Linked DNA regions of Homo sapiens: all the other regions are linked to region 1. Evidence: promoter capture Hi-C in 16 types of primary human blood cells and fetal thymus (Javierre and others, 2016). All regions are on one chromosome and are shown on one strand. Each heading gives the region's core, a stretch centred on a gene start or on the middle of the fragment in contact. The rest is flanking DNA. Distances are from core to core; before and after follow the strand shown.

Region 1 (3,394 bases), core at 234-2,733:
GGAGGTTGCTGTAAGCAGAGATCTCACCACAGCGCTCCAGCCTGGGTGATGAGCAAGACTCTGTCTCAGAAAACACACACACAAAAAACCCCCAAACAACACACACACGCACACACAAAAATATAGATAAAAAGTAATACAGTAGAACAATTATTTAAAGTATACGAGAAGATGTGTGTAGGTTATATGTAAATACTACACCATTTTATATAAAGGATTTGAGAGCATCTTCAGATTTTGGTATTTGAGGGGGTCCTGAAAACAAGCTCCCTCTCTTGCCCCCATACAGAAGGACAACAGTATTAGAGTCACTGTCCTTCCTATCTTTGAAAAAGTTGAGGGCTGGGCATGGTCAGTCACACCTGTAATCCCAGCAATTTGGGAGGCTGAGGCAGGAGGATCCCCTGAGCCCGGGAGTTCGAGATCAGCCTGGGCAACACAGTGAGGCCCTATCTCTACAAAAATAATGATGATGAAAATAATAAATAACTTTTTTTTAAAAAAAGAAAAAGTAGGAACCTGGGCTCTGCCCACCAATGAACTGTGTGACCTTGGACAAGCTACTTCCAGTCTGCAGCCTTAGTCTCTTCTTCTGTAAAATAGAAATAACAACGATACGTTCTTCAAGCGCCTTGCTCAGTGCCTAGAACATGGCAAGCTCTCGGTATTTGTGGTTGTGGAAGGGTTCAATATCAAAGCGACACTTCTTAGTCAGTGTTTTACTTAGCTTAAAATTAGCCTTCACACTTGAATTGTAAATTGGTCCCTAATTAATGCCCTTCGGGGCAAAATCTGTGTTTAACCTTACTTTATGCGTAGACAGAGCTAGCAAAGCTTTTCAGCTGAGAGGAGAGGAACATGTCAGTCGCCTGGGTCAGGCCGGCGGGGACAACCTGCAGTGGGGCGGCTCCTCACCCTGCCCCGCCCGCCCCTGGCCTCGGAACCGGTTTGTTCCAGGCGCCCAGCGTGAGAACACAGGCACTTACCCACCTCTCGTCGGCCCAATAGTCTGAGTCAAGCCCACCCTGGCCACGCACCGTTCCCGGCACCCGGGTGGCGCAGCCCGTCTCTGTCTTTACCGAGAAGCTCCCCACCCTATGCGTCGAGGACCCCACTTTCTTCAAAGGAGAACCTGAGGCAGCGTCTGGGAAAGCAACTCCATGGCCTCCAGGTCCACCTCGACCCTTTCCTCAGCCCCAAGACCCCGCTGCCTGAACCCCATCGCCCCGCGTGCCGGGATCGCCAGCGCCCACCAGCGGCTCCCGCCCCGGCTCTAGGCGCAGGTGGGGGCGGGGCCAGGGCGGGGCCTGAGGAGCCGGCGCCCCGCCTCGCCCCGCCCCTCCCCGAGGCCCGCGGCGCCGCCGCCTCCACCTCGCTCGAGCCGCGGAGCGCCTCCGAGCGGCCGGCTGCGGCCTGGCTCCGCCTCTCCCGGCCCGGCGCGCCCGCTCCCGCCTCCTTCCCTCTCCTGGCTCCCACCTCCCTCCCTTTCCGCTGCCGAGGCGGCGGGAGCCGAGCCCGAGCGGACCGAGCCGCAGCCGCAGCCGGGCGGCGGGCGAGAGGCGGCGGCGGCGGGCGGGCCGCGGGCAGTCAGTCGGGCGGCGGCGGCGGCGGCGGCGGCGGCGATGCGGCGGCCCCGCTGAGTCCGCCCGCTCCTGGCGCCGGGAGCCAGCCGCGCGAGGCGGCCCGGGCCGGGCGGCAGCATGCGGAGCGGCGAGGAGCTGGACGGCTTCGAGGGCGAGGCCTCGAGCACCTCCATGATCTCGGGCGCCAGCAGCCCGTACCAGCCCACCACCGAGCCGGTGAGCCAGCGCCGCGGGCTGGCCGGCCTGCGCTGCGACCCCGACTACCTGCGCGGCGCGCTCGGCCGCCTCAAGGTCGCCCAAGTGGTAGGTGCCGGGCGGGGCCCCAGGTGCCCGAGGGCGGCCTAGCCGCACGCCTCCCTCCCCGCCCCGCTGCGGGGCCTCCGCCGCGTACCCGCTTGCCCAGGCCGGAGCCCGCTCCTCGCGCCCCCTCTCCCTCGTGGGGTCCCGGGACCACTCTGCAGCCTTCTCTGGGGACCCCGCCTTCGGCCAGAGCCTGCCCTTCCCAGGCCGGCAGCCTCAGGTGTGCGCCTCCTACCTGAGCACCTGCCTTCGGGCCTACCTGTCCGCTCCGCCCTCGCTCCCGGGAGTCTGTGGCGTTACTGGGCTGGGTGCTGCTGGGAATCCTGCTGTCTCCTGGGTACAGCTGGTCTTAGCAACCTGTGGCAGGTTTTCCCGGCCCGCGCAACCTCCGGACGGTGCCTGTTTCTGCCTGCGGAGACGAGGGACTGTGGTTTGGTTCCCACTTGATGTCTAGCTGGGTGCCAGGCGTATATGGTAGGCGCTTAGTAAGTATTTGCTGGATGGAGGCAGGTAGCCCTGATGCAGTGGAGGAGCCCAGATATGCCCACAATTCTCTACACTGCAGAGGTTTGTGTCCTTCTAACCAAGAAGACAGACTTGGCATCCCGGAATCCACCGCCCAGCACGGTGGCTGGCACTGCCCAATTGGTACCCAGAGTTAAATCTGGGAGGGCAGCCAGTTTTGGAGGTAGCAGAAACAGAGAACTTTCTGTTGGACTTGTCTGTAGTAGAGCTCATTTCTCAGGGTCCTGTGTTTTAGCTTCCAGGGTGTTCTGGGCAGGGGCCTCTCAGCTCTGTTCCTGCTTTGTGGTTTTGTAACATGCCTCTGCGGGCAATTGCTTAGCTCTGTTGTGGGCATGCTCTAATTCAGAAAAACCCGTGTGTCCCCCCAACATTCTCTGTCACAGGTAGGCCTTCTGAGGCCACCGGCCTCAAAACTTTATAGACTTCTCATAGCCAGAGAAGCCACTTGTTCTTGTTCTCTCTCTCTCTCTTTTTTGAGACCGGGTCTCTGTCGCCCAGGGTGGAGTGCACTGGTGCGATCGTGGCTCACTGCAGGTTCGACCTCCCAGGCTCAAGCGATCTTCTCACCTCAGCTTCCCGAGTAGCTGGGACTACAAGCACGTTCCACCATGCCGGGTTAATTTTTGTATTTTTAGTAGAGATGGGGTTTCACCATGTTGCCCAGACTGGTCTCCAACTACTGGGCTCAAGCGATCACCCCTCCTTGGTTTCCCAAAGTGCTGGGATTACAGGCATGAGCCACCGTGCCAGGCCTGGTCCTCCTTTTCCTACTTGAGTGCATAAGCATTCCTTGGGAATAATATAATGTGTGGATACCCTTTAAATAAATGTCCTGGCGTTTGTAAATGACAGAATCATAGGCTATTTTATGTCTCTCTTGGGTGAAAGGCTTGTTCTGCTGACTGCCAGAGGGTATTTTTGAAGGGCTTTATGGAAAGAAAAATGGATCAGATAATCTGTCTTCAGAATTTTAAATTTACCTTATC
Region 2 (3,902 bases), core at 1,355-3,854, 130 kb before region 1:
GGCCGATGGGGACCAAGAGCCCCAGACCCGCTCGGGTACCAGGGCCGCTTAGGCCCCGGCGTACCGGCGACGCGTGCGCAGTGCAGTGCGGCGCCCCCTGCAGGCAGCGCGCAGGAGACGGTAGCGGCGAAGGGGCGCTCAGTGCGCCTGCGCGCTTGTGGAGCTGGTGGCGGCGCTCCGCAGGGGCTCGGCTGTTTTCCGCGCGGCAGGCGCGGCCATGGCGCAGCTGGGAAAGCTGCTCAAGGAGCAGAAGTACGACCGGCAGCTGAGGTGAGCCGAGGCTCACCGAGCCGAGGGCGGGCCGGCGGGCTTTCCAGCATTCGGGCCGGGCCTAAGGGCGCGGGCGGCGCGGTCGGGCCTTCCTCAGGCCTTCTTCCAGGCTGGGCCGGGCCGTGCGGGGCGCGGGAAGCCGGCGCTCGGAGCTCCCGCCCTGGGCCAAAGGTGCTCCGCGAGGGCTGGGACCCCTTCCCCCGCCACGCGGTGTGCAGTTCGGGGGACGGGGTCCCCAGCGCCAGCCGGGTAGCTAAGGCGGCTGCCGGCCCCGTTGCGCCCAGGCTCCTCGTTTTCCGAATGGGGAGGCCCGGGGCGCACCGCATCCCGGCCGCGAGGGCGGCACAGAGGGTTAGGTTTTGTTCTCAGCCAGCGCTGTCCAATGGAAATAAAATGCTAGTCTCATGTGAGCCGCAAATGTAATTATAAATTTTCTAGTAACCACACTAAAGGTAAAATGAAACAGATGAAATTGATTTTTAAATACAATTTAACCCAATATGTCCAAAACATTACTATTTCAACACAATATAAAAAGTTCTTGAGATATTTTACTTAAATTTTTATTTTTATTTTTATTTTTGTTTTTGTAGAAACGAGGTTTTTGCCACCTTTCCCCAAGCTGGTCATGAGTATTTTCCTTTTTAAAACTGTCTTGGAGGACCGGCACGGTGGCTCACGCCTGTAATCCCAGCACTTTGGGAGGCCGAAGCGGGCGGATCACCTGAGGTCAGGAGTTCGAGACCAGCCTGGGCAACATGGTGAAACCCTGTTTCTATTTAAAAATTCAGAAATTAGCTGGGCGTGGTGGTGCGCGCCTGTAATCCCAGTTACTCTGGAGGCTGAGGCTGGAGAATCGGTTGAATCCAGGAGGTGTAGGTTTCAGGGAGCCGAGATCGTGCCACTGCACTCCAGCCTGGGTGACAGAGCGAGACTCCGTCAAAAAAGCCCCCCCAAAACTATCGTATAAATATTGTATTTTACACTTACCAGCACATCTCAGTTAACACTAGCCTCATTGCTTGTGCTCAGTAGTACATGTGGCTAGCAGCTACCTTAATGGACAGTGCAGGCCTAAGCCATCAGGAGGGTCCTTGGGTACTTCCCCACCCTTGCCTTTTCTCCTTGCACTACCCATTCCTTATTTATTGAGCGTCTTCTGTGTCTTGAGGCTGTGGAGATAACAAAGCTGCTCAGCTTTCCTCCTTCCTGGAGCCTCTGAGACAACAGAAGTTATATGTCCCCAAGGACTGGAGCTTCTGTTTGCGCCACCAGCCTAGTGCTGTAGTAGAGGCTTTAGGCACTTAGTTCTGAGAGTACCCTTGAAAGCAACCATTTCCTGTGCTTTACAGTTGGAGAAACAGAGTCTTGGAGAAGTTAGGTAATTTGCCCAGAGTTCCCCATATCTTTGAGCCAGGATGTAAACTAAGGCTCTTCTGGCTTTTTCGGAGGTACTCAGTTACATCCTGCTTCCAAGCTTTTCGGAGAAGAAACAGGGTAACAGTCCTTATAACCAACTTAGGTTTTCTTGTAAATTCTTGGAGTTCTTGTGTTTCTAATGCAGGTATAACTGTACATGACAGAGCTGAGAAGATAGTTGAGGTTACTAAGCAACTCTAACAAAAGAGGGTTTTTGCTGAGGGCATTCCATTTAAGTCCCAAACTTTACTTTCATAGTGAGAACTGGTTTTGAAGTGTCAAAGGGAAGCAGTTAGAAGCAAAATGCAGCAGTCAATAAGCCCCTCCTTACTTCACGTTAGTTGGGCCAGCAAGATAGTAGAGAGGACTGATTCATTTGGCCTATTCTTGAAACATGTTACTTAGAGACACACCAGGATTCTTTTTTTTTTTTTTTTCAGGGACAAGGTCTCACTTTGTGACCCAGGCTAGAGTGCAGTGGCTAGAGTGCAGTGGCAAGAACACTGCTCACTGCAGCCTCAACTTCCTGGGCTCTAACGATCCTCCTGCCTCAGCCTCTTGAGTAGCTGGGACTACAGGCATGTGCCACCATGCTTAGCTAACTGTTTTAGAGATGGGGGTTTGCCCAGGCTGGTCTCGTACCTCTGCACTCAAGTGATCCTCCTGCCTCAGCCTCCCAAAGTGCTAGGATTACAGGCATGAGCCACAGTGCCTGGCCTCAGTATTCTTTTTGTTTTATTTTTGAGGTGGGTCTCAGTATGTTACCCAGGCTGGAGTGCAGTGGCTGTTCGCAGGTATGATTATTGGCACACCACAGCCTTGATCTCCTGGGCTGGAGTGATCCTCCTGCCTCAGTCTCCCAAGCAGCTGGGACTACAGGCACACACACTATCTCACCCTGCTTGAGATGCACCAGTATTTTTTTTTTTTTTTTTTTGAGACGGAGTCTCACTGTGTTGCGCAGGCTGGAGTGCAGTGGCGCGGTCTTGGCTCACTGCAATCTCCGCCTCCTGCGTTCATGCGATTCTCATGCCTCAGCCTCCCTAGTAGCTGGGATTATAGGTGCGTGCCACTGTGCCTGGTTAATTTTTGTATTTTTAGTAGAGACGGGGTTTCACTATGTTGGCCAGCCTGGTCTCAAACTCCTGACCTCAGGTGATCTGCCTGCCTCCGCCTCCCAAAGTGCTGGGATTACAGGCGTGAGCCACTGCGCCCAGCCAAGATGCACCAGTATTCTTAAATTTACTCTCCAACTATCTAAGCATCCATCAACCATATATGTCAGGTGTCTTCTACGTGCCATACTTTGATGGAGAAAACAGGCGTTTACGGTCCATCTGGTTCTTCTAGGCGATTCCTCCATACATTTGACAGCTGTCTGGGCCCTTATGGAGCATACAGTGGAGTGGAAAGATGGATGCTCAGCAAACAAAAACAAATGAAGCCAGGTACAGTGGCTTGTGCCTGTAGTCCCAGCAACTCTAGAGGCTGAGGCGAGAGAAATGCTTGAACCCAGGAGTTCAAGACCAGTCTGGATAACATAGTAAGACCCTGTATCAAAAACAAAAACAAAAAACAAGGCAGTTGCTTGACATGCTCTGGAGGACATACTGACTACATAATAAGGGGTAATCTGCTTTAAATCAGGTAACAGGGAAGGCACATTAATCACTCTATTAGAATGTTCATTGGGTAATATACTTTAAAGCACTCCTGTAGAAGTTGATGTGAGGCTTTTCAGATGATAATTCAGTTTTCTTGGTAAAGCTTTTGCAGAAGTCACAGTAATAAGCCCTATGTCGAGATCTTAAATGCATCTAACTTAACTTAAATGCATCTAATATAATTTTTTTTTTTTTTGAGACGGAGTCTCGCTCTGTCGCCCAGGCTGGAGTGCAGTGGCGCAATCTCGGCTCACTTCAAGCTCCGCCTCCTGGGTTCACGCCATTCTTCTGCCTCAGCCTCCGAGTAGGTGGGACTACAGGCGCCTGCCACCACGCCCAGCTAATTTTTTGTATTTTTTAGTAGAGACAGGGTTTCACCATGTTAGTCACGATGGTCTCGATCTCCTGACCTCGTGATCCGCCTGCCTTGGCCTCCCAAAGTGTTGGGATTACAGGTGTGAGCCACTGCACCTGGCACATCTAACATAATTTAAGAATAAATGAAATAGGGCTGGGCACGGTGGCTCACACCTGTAATCCCAGCATTTT
Region 3 (3,569 bases), core at 34-2,533, 240 kb after region 1:
CTGTGGCTCATGCCTGTAATCCCAACACTTTGGGAGGTCAAGGTGGGAGGATTGCCTTAGCCCAGGAGTTTGACACCAGCTTGGGCAACATAGTGAGATCCTGTATATACAAAAAAATAATAAAAAGTTAGCCGGGTATGGTGGTGCATGCCTATAGTCCCAGCTACTTGGGAGGCTGAAGTGGGAGGACTGCTTGAGCCCAGGAGTTCAAGGTTACAGTGAGCTATGATTGCACCACTGCACTCCAGCCTTTTGAAGCCTTTGTCTTCAGAAAACAAAACAATGTGTGTGTGTGTGTGTGTGTGTGTGTATAACAGAATGAAAAAAAACACAACATAGTATCAAAATTTATGGAATTCAGCTAAAGCAATGCTTAGTGGGAAATTCATAGCTTTAAATACTTATATTAGAAAAGAAGAAAGGAAAAGAAGAAAGGCCTCGACTTGAAAACCTAAGCTTTCATGTTAAGAAACTAGAAAAAGAGTAAACAAAACCCAAAGCAAGTAGAGGAAGGAAATAATAAAGATGAGAGCAGAAATCAACGAACTAGAAAACAGAAAAGCAACACAGAATATCAATGAAACCAAAAGTTGTTTTTTTGAAAAGATAAAATTTACAAATCTTAGCAGCTTTATGAGGTAGGTGCTAGTAATCTGATTTAATAGATGAGGGTACTGAGGCTCAGGAAGGTGAAGTGACTTGCCCAAGATCGCAAAGACAATTTTTAGTTGGGGGGAGGGAGACAGGATTTGAACCTGGTTCTGACTCCATAGACCAGGGAATAATATGATATCCTCTCTCCATCCTGGGGAGCTGTGTGTCCCTTCGTTACTCTGGGGCCGTACAGTTGGGCATTGGGGTAAGTGAGTCTGCCACGTGAGGTGCCATGAGGATTGGGAAACCCAGCTATGAAGCAAACCATCTCTAAACCCCATCCTCCTTTTCTCTACACTCTGGAATGTCTGTCCTGCAAAAAGCGTCTAGAAATTTCCCCAATAAACACTCACCTGACAACGCACTCAGATTCCTGGTCTCCCCACAGATCCCTTCGCCAAACACCCATGAGGGATTCTGGTGCCACCTGACCTCTGTAAATGTCACACTGGATGGGCATGCTTTTGCCAACTCCTTTAGGCCTTTCTGGTGGGACAGCAATTATGGCTCCTTCACTGTTCACCATGCTGCCCAGGCCCAAAGCCAGAGGCCTACAAAAGGCATGGCCCTGTGGTTTTCGATTCTGGAGCACATTAAAGGTGATAGGATTTTGTCCTCTGATCCTCAGAGATTCCTTCATTTCCCAGAATTTACAAGGGCATTTGGAAAACCAGCATCAGGGTAGCAGTGTATTAAAATTAGTATACTAGGGCTTATTCCAGAAATGCAAGGATGATTTAAGATCAGGAAATCTATTAGCATAGTATGTTACTTCAGTAGGCAGGACGAGAGAAACCAGTAGAATAGGAAAAGACAGTTACCTCTTTGCCATGATAGATCCTGATGATCTCAACTGACTGCCAACATCACACTAAACCATGGAGCTTTGGAGTAGTTTCCCAGCATGAGGTTCATGGCATGTGGATTCCAAAAAACATTATGGGGCATTTGGGGAGAAGTTCTTTATCCCCCACTCCCCATCAGATTGCTTTGCAGGCCTGAGCTATTTTGAGAATCAAACCAGTCCCAGTCCCAGGCCTTGTGTTCACCAACGTTTAGTATCCTGAGAAGGTAAGCAGCTCTAGGGTCTCTGGAAAAGGATCATCCTTCAGCCACCTTCCTTGGGCAGCCAAAGTCCCGAGTTCCTTTGCTGGAGCTGACCTGCTTCTTGGACTAGGACAGAACTCTGGTTAAATAAGACACAGACAATCCTGGGTTCAAGTCCTGGCACTGCCTCTTGCTGGCAGTGCCCACTGAGCAAGTCAGATCTCTAAGCCTCTATTGCCTCATCTGTAAAATGGGAGCAGCAATTTCGGCTATGAGCTAATCAAAGCAAACTGCCTAGCAGGATGCCTGGCTCATAATAGGTGCCCAATACATGACAATCAAATATTCAAAATTTAAAGACATTCCCTAGACTCAGAACTAAATGTGAAAGACAAAAGAGTAAAGCTTGAAGTGGAAAACATCAGAGAACATCTTCATGACCTTGCATTTCTTAAACAGGACACAGAAGATACTAACCATTTAAAAATGGATACATTGGACTATATTAAAATAAAAAAACTTTGGTTGGAGTTTGGGTTGCAAAGTGGTGGAGGGCTGAGGGCCTGCACAGGGACTGAGGCATCCAGGGTCAAGGTCAAGGTCATGGCTGGAACAAGTGAAAGATTTTGAAAGAAGATTCTCTAAATATATTCATCATTTGCAACCTGCCCCAGGACACTGGAGAATGTTTCTCATGGAGGGATCTGTCTGTACTGGTGCCTGGGAGTGGTTAATAGATCCCGAGACAAAAGAGTTCCTTCTTCACGTCTTTATGGAATCATCCATTTTTTCATGATTAGCTTTTCACTCTAATAGGTTTGTTCTTTGCTGGATGCACAAGAGGTAGTTGCACCATCAATTACAGCAGTTCAGTGTCAAACAGTATTAACAGAGTATAATATGTCTGGTGATGATACTGGAAAACTAATTTTGAAACCTAGGCCTTGTGTTCAATGAGGGGGCCTAAAACAGCCTTTCTTCAAATAAGTGATAAGTGAAAAGCCCCCACAGGATTCCTTTTCAGTTCAAAATATGCAAGCCACAGCAGCTGCTGAATGGAAATGTGTGATATTTACCTAGACTGTCTTTTAATGATGACTCATATTATCAGTGCTTTTGATACCTCTGCTCACCTATGCTTCAGTGTAGGTGTCCCTTGAATACTTCTCATCCTGCAAAGATTTTTTCTTTTTCTTTTCTTTCTTTCTTTCTTTTTTGATTTTTGAGACAGGGTCTTCTTGCTCTGTCACCCAGGCTGGAGCCTGGAGTACAGTGGCACAATCATAGCTCACTGCCGCCTTGAACTCCTATGCTCAAGCGATCCTCCTGCCTTTGCCTTCCAAGTAGCTGGGACTATAGGTGTGTACCACCACACCTGGCTAATCTTAAAATTTTGTTTGTATACACAGGGTCTTGCTATGTTGCCCAAGCTGGTCTCAAACTCCTGGCCTCAAGCGATCCTCCCGTTTCGGCCTCCCAAAGTGCTGGGATTACAGGTATGAGCCACCCCATCCAGACCCATCCTGCAAAGATTTTTGCAGTAGTAGAAGTATAGGTCTTGGTTATTGCAGTACACTTAGAAACAGACCCTCATTCAGCCTTTGTATGTTTTTTTCAGTCTGTTCTAAATCAAAGCCAATCAAAGCCAATGTCAGACAAAGGGAAAGTGCTGTGAGCACCTATGTTCTCCTGCATGTGTTTCATCAGCTTGCCATCCCCACGGCTCTCGTAATAAGACAATCGTGTAGAGCTGGGGCTTTCATTCTTGCACAGTGAAAAATAAGCCCCACTGCAGGAGAAACCCTGGATGTGCTAAGATTGAGCTAAAATTGATATTGAAATGATATGTAAACATTTGTTAAGTCAGA
Region 4 (3,888 bases), core at 960-3,459, 150 kb after region 1:
CAGGCCTGGGCTTGTGGCCAGTCCCTAGAGAGGTGGCTGGGGAGGGCTGGGGGATAGGTGCAGAGGGACTGAGAATAGGTCCTAAAACCCAGAGTCACTGAAGGGCCTCACCCCCACCCAGCACGATCCGGGTTGCCTCTCAGGGAGCGATGTGGGGAACCATGAGTGGAGGGCCTAACTGGGTGAGACTGGAAGGGGAGAGACCTTAACTAAACTAGAGATGGCACAGAGCCCGCAGCTGAGTGGGAAAGCAGGGCCCAGGGGAGTTGCTGGTTGGTTGACTGGTGTTGGTGGGTGAGGAGAGATGTCCAGAGTGTTAAAGGTGTCTGGGTGGATGGTGCAGCCATTACATGGCACAGTTTACAATATTAGATAATTGAGTATCACAACAAAGTTTTTTAATAAAATAACTGGACAGAACTTAACATCCAACAGGGCCATACCTAATGGCTCATGCCTATAATCCCAGCACTTCGGGAGGCAAAGGTGGGAGGATTGCTTGAGCTCAGGAGTCTGAGACCAGCCTGGGCAACATGGCAAAATGCTGTTTCTACAAAAAATACAAAAAATTAGCTGGGCATGGTGGCATGCACCAGTAGTCCTAGCTACTCGGGAGGCTGAGGTGGGAGGGTTGCTTGAGCCTGGGAGGTCAAGGCTGCAGTGAGCTGTTATTGCATTGCTGCACTCCATCGTGGGCAACAGAACGAGACCCTGTCTCAAAAAAAAAAAAAAAATCAAATAGTAGGGAGTTCAATAAATTGTGACAGGTCTTATATAATGGATTATGTAAAGCCATTAAAAACCATGTTTTTGAAAAATATTTAGTGACCTGGGAAGGCACTCACTATGTAAAAGATGAAAAAAAAAAATAACAAAACCAACAAAAGTATATGAAGTATGATCCCAAATGAAAAAAAAAACTGTCCTTAGGAAACAAACAGGAAAGAAATATTATAAACATTAATGCCGAAATTCTCAGTCTAGTTAAGAGATAGATGTGGGGTTAACAAGGAGCATGTAAGAGAGAGTTTGTGGTGTGATGGGGTAAAAGTGTCTTCCCTTAGTTATTTGAATGTTAAATGAAATTCAGCTGGGTTCCTTTTTAAAACAGCTTTATTGTAATTTGCATACCACAAAATTCACCCATTTAAATGTGCAATTCAATGATTTTTAGTAAATTTACAGAGTAAACAGCACTACAGAGTAAACACCACTACAATCTAATTTTATTTTATTTTATTTTTATTTTTTATTTTTTGAGACAAGGTCTGGCTCTGTTGTCCAGGCTGGAGGACAGTGGCACAATCACAACTTACTGCAGCCTTGACTTCCTGGTCTCAGGTGATCCTCCCACATCAGCCTCCCAAGTAGCTGGGACTACAGGCACATACCACCATTCCTGGCTAATTTTTGTATTTGTTGTAGAGATGGGATTTCTACATGTTGCCCAGGCTGTGCAATCTAATTTTATAACATTTCCATTACTCCAAAAAGAAACCTTGTGCCCATTTGCAATCTCTTCTGGCCCCAGGTGACCACTAATCTACTTCCTGTCTCTTTAGGGATTTGTGTTTTCTGGACGTTCCATATAAAATGGAACATATAGCGTGGGATCTTTTGTATCTGGCTTCTTTCACTTAGCACATTTTTTTTTTTTCTTTTTTGAGATGGAGTTTCTCTCTGTTGCCCAGGCTGGAGTGCAATGGCATGATCTTGGCTCACTGCAACCTCCGCCGCCAGGGTTCAAGCCATTTTCCTGCCTCAGCCTCCCAAGTAGCTGGGATTACAGTCATGTGCCACCACGTGCAGCTAATTTTTGTATTTTTAGTAGAGTCGGGGTTTCACCACGTTAGCCAGGCTGGTCTCGAACTCCTAACCTCAGGTGATCCGCCTGTCTAGGCCTCCCAAAGTGCTGGGATTACAGGCGTGAGCCACCGCTCCTGGTTGCTTAGCATAATATTTTGACATGCATCTGCCTTGTAGCACGTATTAGTATGTCATTTTTTCCTATAGCTGAATAGTATTCATGGCGTGGCTGTAGTGCACTTTGTTTATCCACTTGCCAGTTGTTAGACGTTTGGGCAAGTTTCTTTTGACTGCAGATTTCTCAGGGTCTTTGATAAGACAGGATATTTGGATTCTCCCTGTGGAGGCTTTGGCACCCAAGCCAGTTTGCCTCTGGAACCCTGGGTTCTAATTAAACATCCAAATGACAATGATTGCTGAGATTTACGAGTGATTTTTATTTTCTTCTTTTAGGGATTGTGTAATAAGGTTTGATCAGAGAAATCCAACTGATAAATACATATATGCATATTCATAAACATATACATATATTCATGCATACATACATTCTTGTGTGTGAGAATGTATTTCTTTTTTTTTTTTTTTTTGAAGACAGGGTCTCACTCTGTCACCCAGACTGGAGTGCAGTGGTGTGATCTCGGCTCACCACAACCTCCACCTCTCAGCTCCCAAGCTCAAGCGATTCTCTTGCATCAGCCTCCCCAGTAGCTGGGATTACAGGCATCCGCCACCACGCCTGGCTAATTTTTGTATTTTTAGTAGAGACGGGGTTTCACCATGTTGGCCAGGCTGGTCTTGATCTCCTGACCTCAAATGATCCCCTGCCTCGGCCTCCCAAAATGCTGGGATTACAGGCGTGAGCCACTGCGCCTGGCCACTGAGAATGTATTTCTTAGCACAAGAATGCTTAATTTCCATTTTTAGGAAAGATTAAATATTGTTACTTATAATAGGGATAGATGGCTCATCACAGTTTCAGTTATAATCATGGAAAATTGGACTCAAGGGCTCATAGCAGAGGAAAATGGAGATAAATTGTAGCGTAATCACAGAGTGTTGGGCCAGGCCGGCCATGTGCTCCCACAGCATGGGGACCATCTCCTTTTCACAGTTTCCTGTTGCTTTCCTCCACACACTCATGAGCTCTTTGGCCGTTGCAACGAGGCCCTGAGTACACAGTGCCTGGCACAGCATAGGCCTTCAATAAACAGTTGAAACGTGCTCAAAGATGAGGACTGTATAGAAAATAATATTTGGCATGAAATATGCTCATATGTCATGGGGTTTATCTCTTAGTATTGGGATTATGGGTGATAGTTTCTCCTTTTTGATTTTCTGTATTTTCTTCAATGGGCATGCACTTCTCTTATAATATTTTTAGACATCACTTTAAAAAGAAATGTAAAGACTCCCTTTGCTTGCTTCCTGTTCCCCCTTCCATTTCAGGGGAACTTTGTGAGATTCTTCCTGCGTTGCCTGCTGTAAACCGGAGGGCAGATTGGCTGAGCTCATTCAGGGCCTGACATTCACCAGCTCTTCAGGATTTCATGCTGGGGATAGGAACAAGTTTCTGGGAGAAGGGCTTATCTGAACAACCTGTTAAAATGCTTCAATGAACAGGAAAGAAAAAAGACTGTAGAGTGATGTCTAGGTTGAGCTCTTTTTATATATCTAGGAAGAGGAAAAGTTTTCTTTAAAGAGCAATAAAAAAATTAAATCCATTAGTGCCCTAATGGGGTCTTTTCATGCCCTTTTGTTCATTCCCTTGGGTTCATTTTGTAGTTTGGGGCTCTAAAGGAGTGGGCTGGGAGGGACCCAGGATGGGAGAGTGGCCTTGTGTCTCCTGGATACCCGTTAGGATCAAGGCAGGAGGAACCTTCTCCGCCAGCTGACAGAGTTCTAGTTGCTGGGGAGACTTTAGTGGGGTCGGGTGAGACGGCCCACTGTGACCTGGTGTTTATGTGAGGTGTGACTGAGGCTCCATCAGGAGTCGTGAGAAGGGGCCTGGATGTGAATTCTAATTCTGATTCTTCCCTAGCCAAGTCTGGCACTTGGGTAAGTTACCTGTGTTGCCCAGGTTTC
Region 5 (3,683 bases), core at 1,038-3,537, 180 kb before region 1:
ATAAACTCCATGACTCAAGCAACTATGGCTGCCTTACTCACCAACAGCTTTCCAGTGCCTGGCCCTGTACCCGGCACACACTAAGTCCTCAAATACTGGCTAAATATGACATTTTCAGAGGCCCAATAGCACACTAGCTGTGATACTATCTTGTGTAGCATCAGACACACTGCTGATGAGGTAACACTCCAGTTATCTATTGGTGGAATGGGAATATTAGTCTTAGAAGGTTTTGTGAGAATTTAATAAAATATGACGCTTCTGCTAAAAAAAAAAAAGTAGCTATTATTTTCATCATTAGGTATATACCCCTCTAAGTCATTCTGGGTATTTTTTGTTTGGTTTTTTTTTGTTTTGTTTTGTTTTTGAGATGGAGCCTGGCTCTGTCCCCAGGCTAGAGTGCAATGGTAAGATCGTGGCTCACTGCAGCCTTGCCCTTCTGGCCTCAAGGGATCCTCCTGCCTCAGCCTCCTACATAGCTGGGACTACAGGCATGTGCCGCCAGGCCCAGCTAATAGACAGGGTCTCCCCGTGTTTTCCAGGCTGGTCTCAAACTCCTAGGCTCAAGCGATCTTCCGCCCTTGGCCTCCCAAAGTGCTGAGATTACAGGTGGGAGCTACTGCGCACAGTCATTCTGTACGTATTTTTGTAGAGTTGTAACCCCAACTTTGAATCTGGCTTTCCTGATAAGAGTATTTTTTCACATCTGATGGCTACATTTTGACATAAATAATCACAACTTACTTAACTATTCTTTACGGCTGGAAATTTAGAGGTTGTTTCTACTACTTGCTATTTATTAATATAAAATACCAAACTGGACTGGGCACAGTGGCTCATGCCTATAATCTCAGCATTTTGGGAGGCCAAGGCAAGAGGATCACTTGAGGCTAGGGAGTTTAAGACCACCCTGGGTGATACAGCAAGTGCCCCATCTCTACAAAAATTTTTAGATTAGCTGGGCATGGTGGTAAGTGCCTGTAGTCCCAGCTACTCAAGAGGCTGAGGTGGGAGGATCGCTTGAGCCCAAGATTTCAAGACTGCAGTGAGCTATGATCACACCACTGCACTCCAGCCTGGGCGACAGAGCCAGATCTGTCTCTTTAAAAACAACAACAACAACAAAACCCCACCAAACTGTACTGCTTTATGCAGTAACCTTTTCTCTACTTAGGTTTTATCCTAGTTATTTCCCAAACAAGGAGTCAGTAGGTCCAAGGGTGTAGACTCATTGCCAAACTGATTTCCAAAAGCTTCACATCTGCCTCCTCAAGGGGGTGACGAGTTTCCTAGTCCCTTCACTAGCCCTGGTGGTACTTTTCCTTGGAATATAATAAATTAAATTAAATTAAATTAAATTAAATTAAATTAAAAAAAAAAAAACAGAACAAAACCTTGACCCATTATAATGAGCTTTTCATGTATGAATCCTGCCCTCGGGATCTCGAGATCATTTGTCGGGACCTCAAGAGTTCCCAGGACTGAGGACCGTCCCTTCACTCCCCCACCCCCTGCCAGCCCACCCCGCAGAAGTCGGTGCGGGGGCGGTCTGTCCGGGAGCAGAGGGCGCCTGACGCTCCGGCCCTGCAGTCAAGGCAGGCAGCGGTGCAGGGTGATACACCGCAGCCAGGACGCAAACCCTCTTGCATCCTTAAAGAAAACAGACAGGTCCCAAGTTCAAATCTCTGACTTCAGCCTCATCGCTAAGTGCATGGACTCCGGAGCCCACCAAAACCGATCTCCCTAGAACCCCGGCACGGCCGTACCCCAGCTGGGTGCCCCCGGGCGACCCGCTTGGTGCCTCTGAGCCCCGGCTTGCCAGCCTGTAAAACAGGGGCGTGCAGTCGGGACACAGAGCTCCAAGGGGTGCTCGATAGGCCAGAGCAGCTAGTGGGGTGCCCCGGTAGGCAGCCAAGGGTCCTCGGCGAGCCCGCGGGCCCACGTGGCGCGCGCACGTGAGTGGGGTGACCGTGGTCGTAGGCCCAGCTGGTCCCTCTCCGCCGCGGACCCGCCCCCTCACCTCAGCTCTCCCTCCGCCCAGTCACCTGAGCCGGTGCCGCAGGCCGGGAGGGTCAGGCGCCGGCGAGGCCTGGCGGGGAAAGAGGTGTCCACATCCCCCGCTCGTTACCTTCCCTACCTCGGACCCTCGCCCGCTTCTCACCAGCTGGCGAGGCCACAGCCGCCCGCTCCGTCCGGTCAGTTCAGCGCCTGCGCACAGTGCCACAACTGCGGCCACCAGGTCCTCACCTCACCCAGGCGGTCCCTAGTCAGGACCCAGCTCCAGAAGGAAGCGCCCTCCCGCCAGCCCTGGTTGGCTCAATTGCGGAGGCGGGCCCTTGATGGACAGAGGTATTGCCCAATGGCTAAAGAGGATGAGAGGCGGGCAGAAAGGCGGGACCCGGGAGGGGGCAACACCGCCCCTTACCCCCTGCCTGGGTGCTGAAAGTGTTCGAGCGCGGGGCCACAGGACCAGGCAGTCACGTGCCTGAGATCGCCAGCTACGTGGCCGCTACACTCTGCATACCCCGAACCCAGCGGCCTCCCCAATTCCTCACCGTTGTTAGAACACCTCACTGCTTCCTCTCCACTTCGGTGTCGACCACTCCAGAACCCTCTCTTGAGCGCCACACCCTGATGTCCAGCCACCTGGACACCTGCCTCTGGAGGCCCCCAGGCGCCTCAAACATAACTTACCCCAAACTCAGCTTTCTGCCAAACTTGCTTTTTCTCTTCTCTCCTAACCCAGTAATGGCCCCACCATCTGCCCAGAGACCCAAGCCAAAACCCTGGGAGGCATCTTGACTCCTTCCTCTCCCTCACCCTCTCTTTCCAGTTATCTAATGCTGTAAATCCTATCTCCTAAATCTCTCTCCACTCATCCATCCGGCGACGCAGCCACCCTATTCCAAGCCTCTCACTTGATTTTACGGTTTTCCCTCCTCCACCTTTGACTTGGTCCTAACCACAGAGCAGAGCAGCCAGAATGACGCCCCTCCCACCTTTTCTCGTGGTTGGTGGGTAGAGACAAGGTCTTTCTATGTTGCCCAGGCTGGTCTCAAACTGCCGGGCTCAAGCAATCCTCCCACCTCAGCCTCCCCAAAGTGCTGGGATTACAGACGTGAGCCATCACGCCTGGCAGAATGACACTTCTAAAACTCAAATTCCAAGGCCGAGTGCGGTGGCTCCTGCCTGTAATCCCAGCACTTTGGGAGGCCGAGGCGGGGGGATCTCCTGAGGTCAGGAGTTTGAGACCAGCCTGGCCAACATCACGAAACCGTCTCTACTAAAAATACAAAAATTAGCTGGGAGTGGTGGTGCGCGCCTGTAGTCCCAGCTACCTGGGAGGCTGAGGCATGAGAATCATTTGAACCAGGGAGGTGGAAGTTGCACTGAGGTGAGATCATGCCACTGCACGCCAGCCTGGGAGACAGAGTGAGAGTCTGTCTCAAAAAAAACAAAAACAGAAACAAAAACAAACCAAAAAAACCCTCAAATTCCTGCCCTAAAGTCTTTTTTTTTTTTTTTTTTTTTTTTTTTTGAGACGGAGTCTCGCTCTGTCGCCCAGGCTGGAGTGCAGTGGCGGGATCTCGGCTCACTGCAAGCTCCGCCTCCCGGGTTCACGCCATTCCCCTGCCTCAGCCTCCCAAGTAGCTGGGACTACAGGCGCCCGCCACTACGCCCGG
Region 6 (3,799 bases), core at 511-3,010, 130 kb after region 1:
CAAAACTTCTTTTTTTTCATGCACAGGCTTTTTCTGGTAAGGACCGCTGGGATTGAACAGAAGCTTCCGGTAAATAAGGGCCCCGTCGGCAAGACAGCATACTGCTGTCACAAGTGCAAACACCTGGAAAGAAAGACAAGTGTCACTGCCCTAACCATGGTCCCCACTCCTGTCATTCACACAAGTTTTAAGTGGTCTGCCCACCAGATTCCTCTCTTGCTAGGGTACTCGGATTGCTCCCTGTGCTTCATCTAATACTAACATGGAGAGACTTCAGAGATCATCTTATTCTCCTCATTGCTAAGTTTTCTAAATACTTGCCTATAGAAAGAGAAAAGATAATTTAAGTGAGCAGAAAAATAATAAAGCAGTGTGGGCTCTGAAATCCATACTTGTTTGCTTTTATCTCTTGACCTGCTCTTGCATGTATTCTTTTAAGCCCTACTGAGGATATTTAGTTATTAATATTTCTAACCCCAGTGTTCAACTCTGACTTCTCTACTGACAAACTCTACAGAAGAAAAGGTCAAAGTTAACACCAGCTCAATATTAAATCATGGGGACTGTAGCTCCAGAAAACTGGAGTTAATAAGATGATCCAAAGTGAACTCTCAAAGGCTAGGCTACATCTGCTTAAAGGGTGAGATTCTAAATAGACCTTAAGAAAGTAAAATTAGATAAAAACAATAACTAAGAACACGTGGGGGCCTTCAGACACTCTGATGGCTATCTGAGAGCTGGTGCCTGGGGTGGGAGAGGGGGATGTCATTCCTTGCATGCTGTTTGGTCAGCTTCTTCCAGTCATCAGGAAGTTTGGCTTCCTGGCTCCAGACATGGCTCTCACAGTCTCCTTTTCCACCCAGAGTCTCAAGCCACTGCCTCCTAGGTTCTGACCACACTGAATACCTCCTACCAATCTTTTCATGACTGGCACTCTGTACACTATTGGCTCCTCTACCTGGAACCTTTTCCATTTTTTTTCCTTTATTCTCAGCAAACAGCAATTCCACTGCCAGAGAGGTAGTTTCCTCTTTTCTGCACCATGCAGCTCCCTGTCAACAGCTTATATACAGCGGTTTCCACTTGTGTCTCCTGTGTTAAGCTCTAAGCAACTTGAGGACGGGGCTCACACTCTAGTCAGTGCTGTCTGAAAGCAGCATAATATGAGTCACCAGTGTAACACAGCCACATAATTAAAGATTTTTTAACAGCCACATTATAAATGTAAAGAAAAAAGTCGGCCGGGCGCGGTGGCTCACGCCTGTAATCCCAGCACTTTGGGAGACCGAGGCAGGCGGATCACGACGTCGGAAGATCGAGACCATCCTTGTTAACACGGTGAAACTCCGTCTCTACTAAAAATACAAAAAATTAGCCAGGCATGGTGGCGGATGCCTGTAGTCCCAGCTACTTGGGAGGCTGAGGCAGGAGAATGGCGTGAACCCGGGAGGCAGAGCTTGCAGTGAGCTGAGATAGCACCACTGCACTCCACCAGCCTGGGCGACAGAGACAGACTCTGTCTCAGAAAAAAAAAAAAAAGAAAAAAATAAGTCATAGATTTTAATATATTTAGCTCAGTATGTCTAAAATATTATCATTTAACATGTAATCAACAAAGTTATTAACAAAATATTCTACATTCCTTGTTGGGGGTAATAAATCTTTGAAATTAAATGTGTATTTTTATACTTACAGCTGATCTTGATTCAGACTAGCCACATTTCCAGTGCTCAGTAGCCCCATGTGGCTAGCAACTATGGTTACTATACTGAATAGCACAGCTCTATATTTTGTCAGCCCCTGCCAAAGTACACTTAAGAAATGAGTAAATGAATGAATGAGTAAAAAAGTGAATGAAAGTAAATCCTATGCCTGGTCCTTCCTTCTTCACAGTAGAAAGATGAGTATTATCTTCAAAAACAACTGGGGGAAATTGATACAGAGCTATCTCATTTCTAGAATAATTCTGACTCCTCATGAAGTTGCTCAGGGCCTAAGGGAGATGAAAATCATGGCTTCTGACATATATGGCTGAGAGTTCTCCTAAGTGACCCATACTATGAAAGAACATGGAAGTAGGAAGATTTATTTAAGAACTTTCTAATTCAATTCTCTAGGTCAGAACCTAGAAAAGCTAAATGATTTTGAACCTTGTATGAGAAATCTTAGAAGAATATCAGATAGAACTATAACTAAATTACTTGAGTCATATTCTGGCTTGCTTTCTAGGATGAGGTCTGATGGAATTGATCTGCTTCTCTTCAAGCCGGGTTCAAAATGATCCTTTAGTTGCAAGGTGCCCTGCCAATGTTCTCTTACCGTAAGGACATCATCTATTATATTCTATCTGAAGGATCTGAACAAGAAATAACTGAGCTCAAAACAGTCTGTCTCATCTTAACAAATGGTATGTATCCTTTTCTGTAAAAGGGAGAGCTATGAAACTCATCCATCCTTTTGTTTTGTTTTGCTTGACATCAGGTTTCTCAGAGCTAAGTGCTGTAACTGATTCCAGTAGCTTTTGTCAGTCTAGTCTAGCCCTACGTACCTATAAGAAATCTGTAGGAACCCCTTTATTGGGTTAATTCTGCTTCTAGTATAAAATCATACTCCTTCATGTTAATCAGGGCAAGCATTCACAGACAAAAATATTAAGCCACTAGGCATTGTATATTGGCCTAGGAATCTCAAGGATGAATATAGTATAGCTTTCTATTCTTACATCTGTTTTCCAAGTAAATTTGCATTCTGATAAAACCTGAAGAAAGCAAGCAGAAAGACTTCCACTTACCCCTCCACCAACTGTCAATGTTGTGGTTTCTGGTATCAGTGCCAACACAGATACGATGAGCATGAATACTGTTGTTACCAGTGAGTTGATAATATCCTAAAAACACACAATAAAGCTGAGCCTTACATGAAGACTACCAAGCAATGCTAAAAAGGAAAAACAAAAAACAAAAAAACAACAACAACAAAAAACAAAGTCAGCAGGCAGAATGCACTGGCTCCCGCCTGTAATCCCAGCACTTTGGAAGGCAGACAGATCACTTGAAGCCTGGAGTTTGAGACCAGCCTGGCCGACATGGTGAAACCCCGTCTCTACTAAAAAAAACAAAAATTAGCCAGACATGGTGGTGCATGCCTGTAATCCCAGCTACTCGGGAGGCTGAGGCACAAAAATTGCTTGAACCCGGGAGGCAGAGGTTACAGTGAACTGAGATCATGCCACTGCACTACAGCCTGGGCAACAGAGTGAGACTCTGTTGCAACAAAAGGAGTCAGCTTCCTAAATATTTTGAAAGTTTCATTTTATTAAACAAATTTATTTAGCATCTATCTTTCAGGAAACCAAAATGTCACAGTAAAATGATACCTAGATAGTATCTGGTCTATAATGACACCTAGTGGTTTTCTTTTACCTGTGATATGCCAATCATTTACTTAAAAAGCTTTTTATTTCTTTTTTACTTAACATAAATGTAGTTGAAGGGAAAACTCATCTGATTAGGAAATAAAGTAGATGATGTATTATGTAGAAAGTTTAAGGTAGAAGGGGTGCCATGGGAAGTAAAAATGCTCATTTTTAATAACGTAAGAAAATGCAGAGTAGTCTACATTGTATATCAAACTTTAAGTTACTAAATGCAATTAATGCTGGGCGCTGTGGTGCATGTCTGTAATCCCAACACTTTGGGAGTTCAAGACCAGCCTTGCCAACATGGTGAAACTCTGTCTTTATTAAAAAATACAAAAATTAGCCAGGCATGGTGGTGAGCGCCTGTAGTTCCAGCTACTT

The links. Contacts are between HindIII fragments. The CHiCAGO score rates a contact against its expected background, and 5 or more counts as called.
Region 2: a fragment that was not itself captured here is called in contact with the fragment with the promoter of CMTM4 in region 1 in 2 of 17 cell types (endothelial precursors and M1 macrophages); the score reaches 5.8 in endothelial precursors.
Region 3: a contact is called between a fragment that was not itself captured here and the fragment with the promoter of CMTM4 in region 1, in 11 of 17 cell types (total B cells, naive B cells, naive CD8 T cells and 8 more). The highest score is 11.0, in total B cells.
Region 4: a fragment that was not itself captured here is called in contact with the fragment with the promoter of CMTM4 in region 1 in 1 of 17 cell types (naive CD4 T cells); the score reaches 5.2 in naive CD4 T cells.
Region 5: the fragment with the promoter of PDP2 here is called in contact with the fragment with the promoter of CMTM4 in region 1 in 2 of 17 cell types (erythroblasts and endothelial precursors); the score reaches 5.5 in erythroblasts.
Region 6: a contact is called between a fragment that was not itself captured here and the fragment with the promoter of CMTM4 in region 1, in 4 of 17 cell types (naive CD8 T cells, non-activated CD4 T cells, naive CD4 T cells and 1 more). The highest score is 6.9, in naive CD8 T cells.

The regions. Positions count from the first base shown.
Region 1 is chr16:66,694,832-66,698,225 of GRCh38, reverse strand. CMTM4 (CKLF like MARVEL transmembrane domain containing 4) reads left to right here and starts at 1,483. Exons shown (of 4, transcript NM_181521.3): 1 at 1,483-1,886. The coding sequence starts at 1,701. RefSeq lists silencers at 841-920, 951-1,010, 1,251-1,590, 1,681-1,970 and an enhancer at 1,441-2,280. The HindIII fragment of the contact is 10,204 bases long and covers 837-3,394 here.
Region 2 is chr16:66,827,215-66,831,116 of GRCh38, reverse strand. It overlaps NAE1 (NEDD8 activating enzyme E1 subunit 1), which reads left to right and starts at 141. Exons shown (of 20, transcript NM_003905.4): 1 at 141-270. The coding sequence starts at 218. RefSeq lists silencers at 181-405, 387-446, 457-666 and an enhancer at 1-417. The HindIII fragment of the contact is 1,709 bases long and covers 1,750-3,458 here.
Region 3 is chr16:66,450,084-66,453,652 of GRCh38, reverse strand. All of the region lies in intron 2 of BEAN1 (brain expressed associated with NEDD4 1), which reads right to left. It also overlaps the pseudogene LOC107984807. Among named protein-coding and RNA genes, the nearest start is that of BEAN1-AS1, 25 kb to the left of the region's middle. The HindIII fragment of the contact is 1,650 bases long and covers 459-2,108 here.
Region 4 is chr16:66,543,600-66,547,487 of GRCh38, reverse strand. The region is part of intron 2 of TK2 (thymidine kinase 2); the gene reads left to right. Among named protein-coding and RNA genes, the nearest start is that of TK2, 4.6 kb to the left of the region's middle. The HindIII fragment of the contact is 6,883 bases long and covers 1-3,888 here.
Region 5 is chr16:66,879,119-66,882,801 of GRCh38, reverse strand. It overlaps PDP2 (pyruvate dehydrogenase phosphatase catalytic subunit 2), which reads right to left and starts at 2,287. Exons shown (of 2, transcript NM_020786.4): 1 at 2,162-2,287. RefSeq lists a silencer at 1,834-2,013 and enhancers at 1,473-2,245, 2,494-2,573. The HindIII fragment of the contact is 2,608 bases long and covers 1,256-3,683 here.
Region 6 is chr16:66,562,210-66,566,008 of GRCh38, reverse strand. CKLF (chemokine like factor) reads right to left here. Exons shown (of 4, transcript NM_016951.4): 3 at 2,792-2,887; 4 at 1-123. The region is part of intron 2 of CKLF-CMTM1 (CKLF-CMTM1 readthrough); the gene reads right to left. Among named protein-coding and RNA genes, the nearest start is that of CMTM1, 2.3 kb to the left of the region's middle. The HindIII fragment of the contact is 3,389 bases long and covers 66-3,454 here.